2 separate regions of the Homo sapiens genome follow, and region 1 is linked to region 2. Evidence: promoter capture Hi-C in human tissues and cell types (Jung and others, 2019). All regions are on one chromosome and are shown on one strand. Each heading gives the region's core, a stretch centred on a gene start or on the middle of the fragment in contact. The rest is flanking DNA. Distances are from core to core; before and after follow the strand shown. Region 1 overlaps BRD10 (bromodomain containing 10). Region 2 holds the start of CDC37L1 (cell division cycle 37 like 1, HSP90 cochaperone).

Evidence for each region. Contacts are between HindIII fragments. The study calls those that stand out against the background at their distance.
Region 1: a fragment that was not itself captured here is called in contact with the fragment with the promoter of CDC37L1 in region 2 in 1 of the 25 tissues and cell types used here (lymphoblastoid cells).

Annotation. Positions count from the first base shown.
Region 1 is chr9:5,994,354-5,998,750 of GRCh38, forward strand. All of the region lies in intron 1 of BRD10 (bromodomain containing 10), which reads right to left. Among named protein-coding and RNA genes, the nearest start is that of MIR4665, 11 kb to the right of the region's middle. The HindIII fragment of the contact is 6,479 bases long and covers 1-4,397 here.
Region 2 is chr9:4,677,805-4,682,571 of GRCh38, forward strand. CDC37L1 (cell division cycle 37 like 1, HSP90 cochaperone) reads left to right here and starts at 1,765. Exons shown (of 7, transcript NM_017913.4): 1 at 1,765-2,095. The coding sequence starts at 1,964. It overlaps CDC37L1-DT (CDC37L1 divergent transcript), which reads right to left and starts at 1,676. Exons shown (of 2, transcript NR_121598.1): 1 at 1,583-1,676. RefSeq lists an enhancer at 1,899-1,988. The HindIII fragment of the contact is 7,477 bases long and covers 1-1,965 here.

The DNA of each region.
Region 1 (4,397 bases), core at 348-2,847, 1.3 Mb after region 2:
TCTGGAGACCACTGCTCTTATCTGCAGCTATAAGCTACCTCACACACAAAAAGGTTTTCAGGAAAAGAAGTAGTCTTCATACCCACAAAAAAGCACTTATTAAAGACCATTAAACTTACTTTCTACTTGATTTTTACCTTCTATTTTCCCAGTCATTACCTTATTCCCCCTGAATTTCTTTTTCGTCTTCCTTCAGACCTCCAGTCCCTTGTCTGACTCTCATTTGCTGTAACATAATTCAACTTCTTTTAGCTATTCACATAGATAACCAGTTGAGACCCATAATACATGACTAACCTCTTCTCTTATCTCCCTGGACCAATTATATTTCTGTCTCAGGCATGTAGCCTCTCTCTTAAATCTCAGCCAAAGGCCCCTTCACTCCTATACTTCTCCTACTGAGCAGGGTAGAAAAAATAATCCCCTTATAATCTGTTGTCTAACTATAACCTCAGCTGGGCTCAACTGTACCTAATATGACTTCTTTGAAGGTGGTCAACTCCCTCTTTCATTCTCCATAACAGCAACTTCAAATGCTATCATTTTTCTTTTTTTTTTTTTTTGAGACAGAGTTTCGCTCTTGTTGCCCAGGCTGGAGTGCAATGGCACCATCTCGGCTCACTGCAACCTCCGCCTCCCTGGTTCAAGCAATTCTCCTGCCTCAGCCTCCTGAGTAGCTGGGATTACAGGCATATGCCACCACGCCCGGCTAATTTTCAGCATTTTCAATAGAGACGGGGTTTCTCCATGTTGGTCAGGCTGGTCTCGAACTCCTGACCTCAGTTGATCCACCCGCCTTGGCATCCCAAATTGCTGGGATTAGAGGCGTGAGCCACCATGCCGGCCCAAATGCTACCACTATTCAAAAGCTTCATTCCATCACTTTCTCGCAGGTGACTGCCCATAACTTATTTCAGAGAAAACGGCAGTTTTTAAGTAAGAGCTCCATTAACTTCCTGCTTCTCAAAAACCAAAATTATCTAAATCCAGGCCCATCCTTACTTTATGTTTCAGTGAAAAATGTGCCTCCAATCCTCTAATGAAAAATGAATCACTACACAGGTCTTCAGAATTTGTATTTCATTAATTATCTTCTGAGCCTTCAAACTCTCTTTCTCTGTCTGTTAGCTGCTTTAGCATATAAACAAGTCCAAGTTTCCCTGAGGAACATCTAAACTGCTGATCCAATTCATCTTTCATTCACATCTCAATCTATAATGTGGCATCTGCTTGGAGCTACTCCACTGAAATCCCTCTTCCCAGAGATCTCCCAGTTAGGAAATGCAAAGGGTATTTTTCAGTTCTTATTTTAGTCAACCTTTCTATACCCTATCTGGTCACCCTTTGTTAAGAACTTGAATTGGACTTTGCAGAAAGAACAGTTTTAGATAGATAGGAAAGAGTGGAGAGAGAATACTAAATAAAGACAAAAATATTCATTCATATTATTCAAATATATTCATCAAAATATTTACTGAGCCACAGGGATTTAGCAAAGAACACGCTAACAATTTGTACATATGGAATTAAAAGTATAAACATCAAAGATGACTGATACATTCAGGCTGAAACAATGATAACACCACTGACAAAAATGTGAAAAGTCAAAAAGAAAAACAGGAAAACTGGGAAGGAGATTTGGGCTAGAAATATACTCAGTTTTTAACATTTTGAGATAACAATTACACAACCAACTGGAAAAGTTCTATGGACAAAAATATGAAACTAAAACTAAAGGCGGGGGGTTCAAGATACTGATTTAGGAGCCCTTAGTGGTAAGTAAAGCCATTAAACAACAACAGTAAATAAATACATATATAAAAATAAATGTATTTATTCCTCTCCAGAGGAGAAGAATACAAACAAAACCTTCCAAAGCCATTATTCATTTCTGCAACAGCAACAGGTAAATGACATAACGCCCCAAAGAACAACTGAAGACCATGTAACTTGGTTTTTTTTTTTGTTGTTGTTGTTGTTTTTGAGACAACGTCTTACTCTGTCACCCAGGCTGGAGTGCAATGGCACAATCTCAGCTCACTGCAACCTTTGCCTCCTGGGTTCAAGCAATTCTTGTGCCTCAGTCTCCCAAGTAGCTAAGATTACAAGCATATGCCACTATGCCTGGCTAATTTTTGTATGTTTAGTAGAGTTGGGATTTCACAGGGTCTCTCACCACATTGGCCAGGCTGGTCTCAAACTCCCGACCTCAGGTGATCTGCCCACCTCTGCCTCCCAAAGTGCTGGGATTATAGGCATGAGCTACCATGCCCGAGCCATGTAACTAATTTTTAAAAAATCGTTTTGCTTAGAATATATTTATTCTGTTTTTCTGAATTTAGGAAAGGCACAAAGGCAAATGCAAAGTTTTTATTTACAGACAAACAGTATTTGAAAAGTGCCTTATCAACCTTGACAAGTGTGATAAGCATTTTTAGTAAGTTAGGGCTGCTCTGCTGAACATACTACTACTGCTACAGCTATTCCTACTTCTCAGGAGTTCTCAATGCAGGCAGAACAGAAGCTCTCTAGGTCACTAACTCTCATACTGTCTCAATATGCTAATGTTCCCTAGAAGATGCTAAAAATGTAATGAGTCTGCAAAGTACGCAGGTAAATACCTTGGCTTCCTGTCCCTGGCCAACTCTTCTATTTATCTCCTAAGCATTGATGAGGCTTTAAAGTAGCTGATTGTAAATTTAGGACACTTTCAGATTCAGACAATGGCACAAGGAAGAAAGGCAGGAAAGCTAGAGCAAGTCTTAGCGCCTGCCTACCTGAAATAACAGGTCTTAACAAAGAGATATAGGGACTTGGCAAGAGCTAAGGACATAATTAAAATGAGAAGAATGTAGCAAGTGGCTATTACAGTGTCTACAGAAAATAAGTAATGCTATCAACTTTTCATCTTTCACTTCATGAATGAGAAGAATACCACTCTTATTCCCCACAAACTAGTGATTTTTATTGTTTTCTTGCATATTTCTTATGCGAAGTGAACAAAACATGGGTGATGCAAATGTTGCTTCTGCTATACTTATTTAAAAGCCACATATCTAATGGAAAAATAAATACATGAAAAAATGGGTTTTTTTTTTGACAGAGGACTCACTCTACCAAATATATTAAAATAAATTCTAAAGTCACAGTAATAAAGTTTAATATCAGAAGATGAATAGTTAGATCAACAGCACACCAGAGAAAGTTAGATCCAAGTACACCAGAGACATATGATAAAGAAAAATAGATCCAAATACACCAATAATATATCATAAACATGGTAATTCAAAATAATGGAGAAAGTTGATGTTGCGACAACTGGCTGGGTATTTGAGAAAAAAATTAAGCTGGATTTCAACCTCACTTCTTCACCAAAACAAATTTCAGGCAGATCCATCCATCCATTCATTCATTCCTTCATTCAATATTAACTAAGCACTTATAGGTAGTGGGGTAGGTTTGGCAACAACACAGACAACATTCCTGTCTGCTCTGAGCTTACATGGATAGCAAAGAAGATACACAAAAAGTAAGCACACACAATACATAATAAATAAGTTCAAACTATAAGTTACATACTGTACGTTTTGTAAAGGACAGTCAAGAACACTTACTTAAGTGGTAACAATAGAAAGAAATAGGCAAGATTTAAAATATACTTTAGAAGTAGGAAGAATCAATGAAAAATGCTATTTTTTTGGCTAGAGCAATTTGGTGGATGGTCAAATCTCTAAGACTAAACTTAGTAAAAATAAACAAAAAAAAGAAAAGTTCTGTTTTGAACATGTTAAAGTTTGAGATGGCTACTGGACACTCAATTGGATAAAAGAAACTATTAACAGTAGGATTGGCCTCTTAACAGTAGGAGACCTGGAGACTGGTGAAAGAGGGAGATTTTCTCTTGTACTGTTCTATTATTGCCCCAGGATGTACACATTTTAATTAATAAACTATTACGAATATAAACACTAATCACTGGATTGCTAAAAAGTCTACATATATTAGTTACAATTCAACTATTTCCTTTAGATTTCCATAATATGTATACACATAACATTTTAATAATCTATATTGCAAATACTGTCAATCCTACCACCACAGGTATCTAAATGCTCCCTACTCCTTCAAATCTTTTATGATCCTTTTCTCTCCAGTCTGTCTCTCAGGAGAAAAGACTCCTTTCTCTCAATCCTTACAGCTTTTGTTCATAAGCAACCAAGCATGATGATTAAGTGCTATATAGCAAACTCAAACTTTGCATTTAATTTTTTTGGGTGTAAGTAAATAATACATGTGTACATATGAGATAAAAAAGGGTTTAAATTGTTAGTAAAAAATTAAGAGATTTCAGTTATCCTATAATTTATATACTCTTCTCATGAAACTTTTAAAATAAG
Region 2 (4,767 bases), core at 515-3,014:
GATTCTCCTCACTGGCCAAAATATGAGGAACTCTAAAGTTAGAGGTCAGCTAGAAGGGAAGAAGACTGAGGAGAAGTAGTGAAAGAGGTAGGAGAAAAACTAACAGCATTAGCGTTTATATAGGGCTTACTTTATGCCAGGCACTATTCAAAGCACTTTGTGGCTTCATGGAAGCAAAGAGAAAAATGTTTTTCTTTTCTTCCTCCCTTTCCAGTCTCTCCTGTGACTTTCACCCCTAAATTCAAAAGGTTTAGGTGCAAAAGTGATTCTCAGCTTTTATTTGTAATTAATTTTATAGTAATCTTGTACTGTTATAATCTTGTACTGTTATAATACTATAATTATAGTATACATTCATTGGAAAAATATTCAAACAGCACAGTACAGGGAAGCTAAATGTGGAAAGTAAAGATCCTCAGAAGCTTTCCTTCCTAGGCTCACCCACCAGAGGTAATCATTAACAGTTTCTTGCATATCCTCCAGGAATGTTCTGCGCAAACACACACACACACACACACACACACACACACACACACGGACGCAAACAAATACCATCCCTCTCTCTTCTCTCTCTGTATACGTACGCATATGTTTAATTCTGCAAGTTGCTTTGTTTAAAACTCAATACCTTTTGGAGGTATTTATATATCAGCATATTCAGATACAATTTACTTTTTTTAAAAAGGGTAATATGCCATTGTATTAATATTCCATACTTTAAGTTCCTCTATCGATGGACAATTAGAATGCTTTTTTTTTTCTTGCCACACACACACAAAAATTGCTGCCAGAAATCTTTGTAGTAAATCTTTGGATATTGGTGCAAAAATAATTGTTGCATACTTTCTTAGTGGTGAAATTGCTGAATCAATCCGCTCAAGCCTCTCATATTGTCAAATTACTCCTCCTAAAAGGTTATACTAATGACATTCTCACATCATTTCCTTACATCTTGGTACACATTTGGTATTAAGCGACTTCACAAGTTTGCCAGTCTAAACACATGGAAAAAAATGGCGTCATGTTGTTTTTATTTGGGTCTCTTTATGAGTAGGGCAGCAAGACCTGATTGTTAAACGTTCAAGTTTTGAAGTTAAACTCCCTGGGTCTGGATCCTACTTCTTCCTTGTAAAATGTGTGATCTCGGGCATGCTGGGTCTACTTCCTCGTCTCAAAAAAAGAGGATAAAGAGAGTACATATCTTTAGGCTTAAACAAGATACGCAGGCATACAGGAAGCCCTTCTTATGCGTTCGCTACTAGCGGTACTGATCCTAATTTTTTTGAAGCCGTGCCGGCTCCGGTACTTTATTTTTGGTGTGCTCCTCCAACCAACCAAGTTTCGCAGAATTCTGTTGTTGCCTGTAATTAGAAATGAGACGAAAATTGGCTCCGCTTGTTCAAAATTCTCCTCCCTCCGCCCCAACTCTGCCTTAGAATCACTGGTTTAAATGTCAATGTAAAGGAATGAGTTGCAATTTTTAAGCAACATGTAAAGTGCACACCTGGTCTGAGTACCTCCCGGCGGCCAGGACCCGCCGTTTTCGGTATAGGGAACACCAGATAACAATATATAACGCTACCTAACAAACGTTTCTCCACCCACAGCGCCATTAGCGGTTAGGTTTGCAGTGCCGAAGAGCTGCAAGAAAACGGGGCTTGAAACAGGAATACAATTGCAGATCCACCCACTACACGCAAAGGGCCCGGGACGCGCCTCCACAGCCCCGCCCCAACCGGAAGTGACGCACCGCGCCGACTATTTCTTCCGCCGTCCGCCGGTGGCGAGGCCCAGGCTGTCGCCGGGTGTGCAGCGGCGTCGCGGCCAGTAGAGGGATTCTGGGTAACGGCCCGGACCCCCGGCTGGGCTTCTGGCTCGGCGCAGCAGGTTCCATTCACGCCAAGTCTGTTGGCAGTGGCAGTTGTAGGGCCAAGGGCGGTTGTAGGACCCGGAGCAGCCGGACATGGAACAACCGTGGCCGCCTCCGGGACCCTGGAGCCTCCCTCGGGCCGAGGGTGAGGCTGAGGAAGAGAGTGACTTCGACGTGTTCCCCAGTTCTCCCCGCTGCCCGCAGCTGCCAGGCGGCGGCGCCCAGGTGAGAAGGGGCCTGCGTTCTGCGGAGGGATGGAGTGGTGCTGTCGCCAAACCCCTGGAATGCCGCGTCTCCCAGACCCTCTTCTACGCCTTTTTCTACGCCCACCTCACTGCCAGGGGCCGGGGACCTGGGACCTGACGCCTGATGCCATCCCACCCCTTTTATGGCATCTTCGGAGGGCAGACGGGGTGGCCATATATTACCAACCTCCACCTCCACGCACATGTTTTCTTTCGCCTTGGCTGATTCCTGTTCACTCTTGGAATACCTTCCTCCATCTCCCCTTCCTGACAGCACTCAGATTTGGGGCGGCTCATGCTGTAACATTGACCCTTTGTCCTCTTGTGAGAGGTTTTCCCCAAGCACTTTATTCTGTTAAAGGCTCTAGCATACTTGTGCACAGTTGCTAGGAACAGTGAATGATTGTAGTTCAGCATCACACTGAGTCCTGACAAAGATTTCACATGCGATTTTCACCGATGTTGACAACTGAGTAAATTCTTTAAATCTCGCTTTTGACGCTGGCGTACACCTCTCCCATTCGCGTGACCATCTTTGCCTTACTGTTTTGTTTTTTAGTTTTGCTTCACGTCATTCTCCAGTGAAAATATATACGCATATACTTGTGTTTTCCTTCAGACTTCTCTTAGGTTCCTGGTATTGTGTTTTCAATCCAGCATTCCTGCCTTCCTGCGACTGAAACGTATCCAAATGTGATATACTATTAAGGATTTTTCAGGGACCTATCTTAGGGGATACTTACATACTCGCATCACCTTGTCCTGTTTTTTTCTCCGAATCCGTGTGTGTTTTGGAAGTATATTTCAGAATCACAGACTAAACACTAATATATTCAATGGATCATAAGTGTCTGCCGCCTTCTTGCAAAATGGGGTTCCCAAGAGTGTAACAGATTTAATAGTAGTTTTCCTCTCAACTTATTTTGCTAGATGTTAATGAGAATGAGTTAAATTGCTTACCAGTAAGCGTGACATTATCAATCTTATGTCCAGCTAACAGGGTTAGTTGGCTTCACACAGAGAAAAATGCTGTTTCATAACCACTGTCTGTACTTTGGCCAGCTAAGTCACTGGGGAACTACAAGACATTTTTTAGGAGGACAGAATGAGAGTTGATGGGTCCATCATTAGTCACCCACTAATTTTGGATCACTAGTGTCATCTTTATATACAAAATGTATTATAAGCACATGATGTGCTAGGGAGGAAAGAAGAATGAACAGCAGATGCCATTGTCAATTTTGAAGGCATATGAAGAGAAAAAAGGGTGTCAAGAATTTCAGTGCATTGTGGTTGAATTACAGAAGTAATCTAGAGAAATATCTGTATGTTAATTTCTTACTTGTGCACTTCTAAATTTGTTTAGCTGGAAGAGATTTTAGAAGTGAGTAAGCTTATCTCTCTCATTAAAAGTGTTTTCCCTGAGGCCATGTAACTAGTTAGTGGCCAGGTTAAAACTAGAACCCACTTATGACTCCTAGTCCAGTATATTTTCCCACCTACTGCACTGCCCACCAGAGTTCGAGACCAGCCTGACCAACATGGAGAAACCCTGTCTCTACCAAAAATACAAAATCAGCCTGGTGTGGTGGCGCATGCCTGTGATCCCAGCTACTCGGGAGGCTGAGGCAGGAGAATTGTTGGAGGCAAAGGTTACAGTGAGCCGAGATCACACCATTGCATTCCAGCCTGGGCAACAAGAGCGAAACTCTTGTCTCAAAAAAAAAAATTTTTTTTGCAAACTGATTATTAATTCTGAGTTCATGTGTTTATTACAAACCTACTTATTGGTCTTACTGGCTTTAAGACTTAAATTTTTGGATTGGAATATTTGGAAAAAATAAAATGTTTAATTGATTAACATTTTATAATCCTAAAAAAAGCTTTGGCTTAATTTTATCAAATAAGGGGGATCTAGACTTCTTAATGTAGTATGTGATATGTAGTTCTTAGATCCAATTAATGTAAAGGCAGATCATGTTTAATGTCCCTCTAAAACTTCTGTATGGTCATGGATTAGAATGTGACCTAATATTTTATTTAATATCTGAATACATGTTGGATAGTTTGCCCAAATGGCCAAATGTTGTCTGGGTAGTTTGTGGAGAAATAAGACATACATTATTTTTAGAATTTTTCGATTTGAGAAAAGAATATTTGCTCCCAAATAATTTGAAAATGCAAGATAATTTCTATTTATCCATATTACCATATTACTTTTCTTGATATATTATCCTTTCTCTTTTTTTTTTTTTTTTTTTGAGGCAGTGTCTTGCTGTGTTGCCCAGGCTGGAGTGCAATGGCACGATATTGGCTCACCACAGCCTCCGCCTCCCAGGCTCATGTGATTCTCCTGCCTCAGCCTCCTGAGTAGCTGGGATTACAGGTGCCCACCACTGTGCCCAGCTAATTTTTTTTTTTTTTTGAGATGGAGTCTCGCTGTGTCACCCAGGCTGGAGTGCAGTGGTGCAATCTCGGCTCACTGCAACCTCTGCCATTCTGGGTTCATGCCATTCTCCTGCCTTAGCCTCCCAAGTAGCTGGGACTACAGGCACCCGCCACCATGCCCGGCTAATTTTTTGTATTTTTAGTAGAGATGAGGTTTCACCACGTTAGCCAGGATGGTCTCGAGCTCCTCCTCGTGATCCGCCC